2 separate regions of the Homo sapiens genome follow, and region 2 is linked to region 1. Evidence: promoter capture Hi-C in 16 types of primary human blood cells and fetal thymus (Javierre and others, 2016). All regions are on one chromosome and are shown on one strand. Each heading gives the region's core, a stretch centred on a gene start or on the middle of the fragment in contact. The rest is flanking DNA. Distances are from core to core; before and after follow the strand shown. Region 1 holds the start of PRKCQ (protein kinase C theta). Region 2 has its middle 7.8 kb from the start of PFKFB3-AS1.

Evidence for each region. The method cuts DNA at HindIII sites, captures the fragments that hold promoters and counts their contacts. A CHiCAGO score of 5 or more calls a contact.
Region 2: a contact is called between a fragment that was not itself captured here and the fragment with the promoter of PRKCQ in region 1, in 1 of 17 cell types (non-activated CD4 T cells). The highest score is 5.0, in non-activated CD4 T cells.

What each region holds. Positions count from the first base shown.
Region 1 is chr10:6,578,923-6,582,537 of GRCh38, reverse strand. PRKCQ (protein kinase C theta) reads left to right here and starts at 2,262. Exons shown (of 18, transcript NM_006257.5): 1 at 2,262-2,327. PRKCQ-AS1 (PRKCQ antisense RNA 1) reads right to left here and starts at 2,113. Exons shown (of 2, transcript NR_036503.1): 1 at 1,611-2,113. RefSeq lists silencers at 1,851-2,000, 2,011-2,260. The HindIII fragment of the contact is 7,587 bases long and covers 507-3,615 here.
Region 2 is chr10:6,193,319-6,196,594 of GRCh38, reverse strand. It overlaps a transcript of PFKFB3 not described here. Among named protein-coding and RNA genes, the nearest start is that of PFKFB3-AS1, 7.8 kb to the left of the region's middle. The HindIII fragment of the contact is 1,761 bases long and covers 599-2,359 here.

The sequences.
Region 1 (3,615 bases), core at 1,013-3,512:
ACCCCGTCTCTACAAAAAAATCTTTTTAAATATTAGCTTGGTCATGGTGATGTGTGCCTGTAGTCCCAGCTATTTGGGAGGCTGAGGTGAGAGGATAACTTGAGTCCTGGGGGATCAAAACTGCAGTGAGCTATGATCACGCCGCTGCACTCCATCCTGGGCAACACAGCAAGACTCTGTCTCAAAAAGAAAAAAAAAAGTCCTTATCATACCTGGTGTATATATGAAACTTTTTCTAAAGCCACTAACTACTGATTAAATTAACAGGACATATGAGCTTCCTTTCAGTGCCTAATTGTCAATGAGAAACCCAGATATGGAGCGTGAGGAATCTACCATCTTCTAGGCACAGTAGCTGTTATCCGTTTGCCATTTCTTCTTTGCACTGTAACAGGATCCGCTGAAAAACAATTGGAGAAAGAGCCAGATGGATGGCAGTCTGAACTAGGGAAGCTTCTGTTTTGTAGTTTGCAGAAAGAATCTGCATGGGGATCACTGCTTAAGCTTTGCCTCTTTGTTTCCAGACACAGACGCACTTTCCTGCCTAATTTCCATAGCAAATACCCAATGAGCGCCTACTGTATGCCAGGTTCTGATGATGTCAGAGTGAGCCAGCACTTCCGAGGTACTGGCCACTCTCAAACCTCCTGGCTAGGATCTTCCAAGAGCTACAGCCTCTGGCCTGAGGGTCAGTCCAATGCTGTTAGATATTGACAAATGCGGGGCTAATTTTAATGGAATATAGTTTTATCCTTAAAAGGTGTGTGTGTTTTGGCTTTATTTGGGTTCATATAGATTAGGGGCATCATCATAACTCGCTTCCTAGTGCAGACCTGAGTGATTTAATCAAGTCTTGAAACACTTCGGGGCCTCAGTTTTTCATCTGCCTTCCCAACCTCTGAGGTTCTTTTTAGTTGACATCCTACATTCCCATGATCAGAAGGCTGCTAATTCAACTTTTGGCTTTTGTTAAACCTTTTTTTTTTTTGAGGCAGAGTTTTGCTGTCACCCAGACTGCAGTGCAGTGGTGAGATCTCAGCTCACTGCAACCTCCTCCTCCCAGGTTCAAACGATTCTCCTGCCTCAGCCTTCTGAGTAGCTGGGATTACTGGCACGTGCCACAACACCCAGCTAATTTTTGTATTTTTAGGAGAGACACGATTTTGCCATGTTGGCCAGGCTGGTCTCAAACTCCCAGCCTCAAGCGATCCACCCGCCTCAGCCTCCCAAAGTGCTGGCATTACAGGCATGAGCCACCGCACCTGGCCTGTTTTGTTTTGTTTTAATCGTTTTTAATGTCTCTCTCAAAACAAGAAAAGAAAAAAGGACAAAAAATTACTATTTTACTTCTCAGATTAATCTGATCTTAGTACACTACAGCAACAAAAGTCTTAATCAAGTACGTTTTAATTATTTGGTGTCATCATTGCAAGGAAACCATTCAGTAAGAATATTAGTAACCAGACATATAATTTTCTAACCTGAATGAGAAATTAGTTACATGGAGTATAGAAAAAGAAACCACCCCGTTTATCCTCCCTGTGACCATCATTAGTATTACCCGCAAGGCATAAAAAGTCCTAAAATGACACGCACGGCGGCAACATTACCTTTGCAGCTTCAAGCACAGTAAAGTTGAAAGCAGTCCCACCTTGGCAATTGTGTATAAAACGACAATGTGCAGATACAGGAAAAGTCCCAGGTCCGAAGCCACCTAGGAACGATGACCCCAGGACAGAAGTGTGCCCAAACAAATGCCTGGGGTAGGTCATTTTAAAAGGAACAATGTTTACAAGCCCTTTCTAGCGTGAAAAACAGAGAAAAGAGACCCAGCTCTTTCCACCCAATCTGCTGGAGCGCCGTTTCGTTTTCAGTTGGGCGAGAGGGAGACATGTGGCCTCTCGCCCCTTTTCCTGACTCTGAGAATGTGGCCGGAGCCGGGGCGCTCCTGCTCCGCCTCGCCGCCCTCCCGGGGCTGTCCTGGGCCCTCCGGCCGCCGCCTCCCGCTCCAGTTCGCAGCTGGGCGACAAGTGGCTGGTAAGGAGGCCAGGGGCGGGAGCCTGGGCGCGGGACCGGGGGCGCACGGCGGGGGACCGAGCGCGCGTCCCTGGCTAGAGGTGCCGGGTCCCGGGAGGCCGGGCTGGCGGGGAGGCTGGCGAGCGCCCCCTGGCGGGCACCGCCTTCTAGGCGCACCCGCAGTGCGCCGGGCCCGCCAGCCCCGCCAGCCCCGCCAGCCCCGCCAGCCCCGCCAGTCCCCGCGCAGTCCCCGCGCAGTCCCCGCGCAGTCCCAGCGCCACCGGGCAGCAGCGGCGCCGTGCTCGCTCCAGGTAGGGCCCCGCGCCCCGCGCCGCCGCCGGGAGGGAGCGGGCTGGAGGGGCCGAGACCCGTGGCGAGAAGGGCTACCCGGGCCCCTCGGAGAGCCTCCGGGAAGGGGTGAGGGCTGCCGGGTGAGCAGGCGGAGTAGGAAATGGAACCAAGCGGGCGCAAGAGCGCACCGGGAAGAATTTCCCCGCTGGGTTTCTGGGACGCAGGTCGCACGGGATGCGGGATGCTGGCGACCTTAGCCGGGTGGGGGCCGCCGGCCTGGGGGCGCTTCCTCCTTTCTTCTCCCTTTTCCTTCTCACCTGAACGAAAGGGGGCCTGCGGGGAGGGAAGAAGGTGGAAAGTTTTTGTATTCTTGGTAAAAAAAAAAAAAAAAAATGCGTGAGGAAACATGTTTTCTGGAGATGGTATCCTGTCCACAGGGGAGCATAACCCCTTTTCTGGGAATGTATTGGAGCACGGACGGGGGTGCCATTGCTCAGGCTTCTAAACAAGCCAAGTTTCTGGTCAAGGGCCTGGGGGAGGGGGAGGCAGGTCTTTGAAAGATACCAAAAAAAAAAAAAAAAGAAAAATCTGCGTGCTCATTCCTGTAGCCTCAAGTGAGGTTATTCCCCAGCTTTGAGGGCCAGGTTAACCAAGCAAAGTTTGTGCAATAAAGTATCTTTGTGGTATTGGATTTTCGAGAGCCACCGTTATCAATGGGAGAGTGACTGTTGAATGCTACAGGCGTGTGCACTCCCCCGTGGGCATGAAGAGAGGTCCACGGGCTGGCTGGATTGGGAGACTCCGGTCATTTCTGCAAGGAGAGCGCCACAGGACTGCCTTGTTCCCTGGGCTGTCCTGCCCCTGTGCGGGCTGGACGTGGTGCTATAAAAGATGATTCAGGAGTGGCACAGGCTGAGGGGGACTAGGCTGGAGAAGGTGGAGGGAAGAGGGAGCACTCCGTGCCCTCTTCCTGTCCATGGGAAATGAACCATCTGTGCCTGGTGTCCAAGTCCTTGACGTTCCAGTTGCCCTTTGAGAGCACACCTCAAGCCTGCTGAATTCTTTTAAGAACCACCTACAAGATCTGAGAAGTCCGCCCATGCTTTCTGTCAACTCCGGCCTCTTTGACCTTTTCTTTTGCCAAAGAAAATTCTAAACCACTGGGATTCGTGAGGCTCCGTGAGAGAGGCAAGAAGCCTGGAGGGTCCACTCCGTTGCTCTTTTCCCTTGGTTTGCTCCCTAGAAGCCATGGTCCCCACTGGGCCCTTCTTGCCCGAGGCTGTGTGATAGACAAGCCCTATTCCTAAG
Region 2 (3,276 bases), core at 230-2,729, 390 kb after region 1:
TGCTGAATGCTTCCTGCCCTCAAACATCAGACTCCAAATTCTTCAGCTTTGGGACTCTTGGACCTTTGACCACAGACTGAAGGCTGCACTATTAACTTCCCACTTTTGAGGTTTTGGGACCTGGACTGGCTTCCTTGCTCCTCAGCTTGCAGACGGCCTATTGTGGACCTCACCTTGTGATCGTGGGAGTCAATGCTCCTTAATAAACTCCCCTTATATATACATCTATCCTATTAGTTCTGTCCCTCTACAGAACCCTGACTAATCCACCATCTCTACAAAAAATAATACAAAAAATTAGCCGGGTGTGGTAGCAGGCGCCTGTGGTCCCAGCTACTTGGGAGGCTGAGGTGGAAGAATCGCTTGAACCGGGAGGTGGAGGCTGCAGTGAGTTGTGATTGCACCAGTGCACTCCAGCCTAGGAGACAGAGCGAGACTCCATCTCAAAAAAGAAAAAAAAAAAAAAGGCAAGCTCACGAGGCAGCACCCTGCTGCCCGTGCTGTCTCATGTGCCTTGGCTCTCAATATCTCTCCCGCCCTCTCCCCCGAATAGTGTTTGTCCTTATGAAAGCAAAAGAGGAAGGAGAGCCAGAAAGCTTGATTCTGGAAAATTCCTCTCAAAGTCTTGAAAACAAGGGGAGGGGTAGAGTAGAAAAAGAGCAGGATGTTGGAACCCGCAACCTTGCCACATTAAGTAGTGACGGGCCTCACCTCCCCAAAGGAGATCACCATCTGCCATGAGAATAAGTGAATGGAAAATGGACTGAGAAACTCACGTATCACACCACCTTGGCTCTGCCAGAGCAGCCAGGACAGTAGCCCGAATTCTCCCTTCTCTGCCTCGCCACACACAATGGCCCCTAACTCCCACCTACCTTCTCCCCCAAGAGAATTCTGCGGGGAGCCCCCCGAATACTCTCTGCTGGCAGTTGTGATCCTCCTGGAAGTGAACCACGTTTATCTGCATTCTCTTACCAGTTTGCTTGGTGACTCAGTCTCCCTGGGTACACTGCCAAAACCAACTTCTAGAGGAAAGTCTGAGTCCTGGGCCGCAGTGACCCCATGCAGACATGGCCAGCCACCTAGGAGGCATGTCAGGGTTGCAGGGGCCCTTGAACACTTGGATCTTGCTTGTTTTCATGCTTAGCCATGGAACTATGTCCTAGAACATGAGTAGCTTTGTTTCTTGCCAGACAATTCCTCAGTATTGTGCAGACCCAGACACAACAAGATGAAGAAAACTCTAGACGTCTGTGAGGCCCAGATAAACCCGATGGAACAGCCCTGGGCAAAGCCCCATTCAGGGTAGGGGAAACATGGCCACTACTAATGCCTAAACCACCCCACCCCATGTCTCCTCTCTAAGGGTCTTCTATGACCCTGACACCATCTTCTTCCAAAGCGTGGATGAAAAAGGAACAGGAGGCGAGCGCAGTGGCTCACGCCTGTAATCCCAGCACTTTGGGAGGCTGAGGCAGGCAGATCACTTTAGCTCAGGAGTTCAAGACCAGACTGACCAATGTGGTGAAACCCCATCTCTATAAAAATACAAAAATTAGCCAGGTATGGTAAGAGGTGCCTGTAATCCCAGCTACTCGGGAGGCCAAGGCAGGAGAATAGCTCGAACCTGGGAGGCGGAGGTTGCAGTGAGCCGAGATTGCGCCACTGCATTCCAGCCTGGGTGATAGAGCAAGACTCAGTCTCAAAAAAAAAAAAAGAAAAAAGAAAAGAAACAGGAGCAAAAGCCCATCCTTGCCATGAGAAGAGTGTTGGTGTTCTATGCCCTTCACAGAGTGAAGCTCTAAGTGCAGCACCAGGCAAACTGTGCAAAGGGACAAATCAGGTGGTCACTCCAAGGCCCTTGAAAGCTCTTGGGCCAGCTTCCCACTGAATCCACAAACCCCTGTTGAAGAGTCCTGGGATCCTCAGCTTAGACCTCTGGCTCTTTGGCTCCAAGCTGTTTGCTCCATTATCAGATGGCGCTACTGGCTAGAAAGACATTGCTTACACTAAGCTGAGTTGATCTTCCTGGAAATGCCCCCTTGTCTCTTTCTGTTGCTGCACATGGGTTAAGCCTGCATCCCCCTCCAACAACAGGTGCTCGCCCTTAAATGTTTGAAAGCAGCTGTCACGTCCCATTGAAACAGGCATCCTTCAGGCTAAGGAGCCCGCTCCTAGACTTTAGCGCAGCGGAAACATAGTTTTCAAAAGTCTGTGCAATTCACCAAAGAGTGAGTTCATCTTGTGATGTCAAGAGCTGAATTAATCAGGGACTCAAGAAGCAATTCCAGGGAACCTCTGCATATCTAGGTTTAGAGACTCAACCGTGATGAACCAGGCTTGTCTTATCTCCAAAGCTTTTATCCAATAGGAATGGGAGGGCAAGACAGTGACTGCGGTAGGTGGCTGGGGACGTGGCTTGGGAGTTAGGAACCCCAACCTGGTTTCTGACCCTCTCTACACCTCGTCTAGACCTCTGCTCCCTTATCTGTCTAAGCATCTCTTCCACTTCCCAAATGGCAGACACCAATGGTTCCCATTGTTCTCAATGAAATACAAATATTAATAGAAACTGTCAGGCCTCTGAGCCCAAGCTAAGCCATCATATCCCCAGTGACCTGCACATATACATCCAGATGGCCTGAAGCAACTGAAGATTCACAGAAGTGAAAATCGACTTAACTGATGATATTCCACCATTGTGATTTGTTTCTGCCCCAACCTAACTGATCAATGTACTTTGTAATCTCCCCCACCCTTAAGAAGGTTCTTTACAATCTCCCCCACCCTTAAGAAGTTTCTTTGTAATTCTCCCCACCCTTGAGAATGTACTTTCTGAGATCCACCCACTGCCCCCAAAACATTGCTCTTAACTCCACCGCCTATCCCAAAACCTATAAGAACCAATGATAATCCCACCACCCTTTGCTGACTCCTTTTTTGGACTCAGCCCGCCTGCACCCAGGTGAAATCAACAGCCTTGTTGCTCACATAAAGCCTGTTTGGCAGTCTCTCCACACGGACACCTGAGACAGAAACCTGAGAGTAATCACTGGACTACAGGCAACTTAGAAACAGGGACAGCTGTTCATCTTTGAATCACCAGATCCTACCACAGTGTCCGACATGGAGAAGGTGTTCAATCTATGCTTGCTTAATGAATGAATGAATGTTTACCTTTGCAGCGATTCAACTAATGGATACACAATACTTTTTTGTTTTGTTTTGTTTTGTTTTTTTGAGACAGGGTCTGGCTCTGTTGCCCAGACTGCAGTG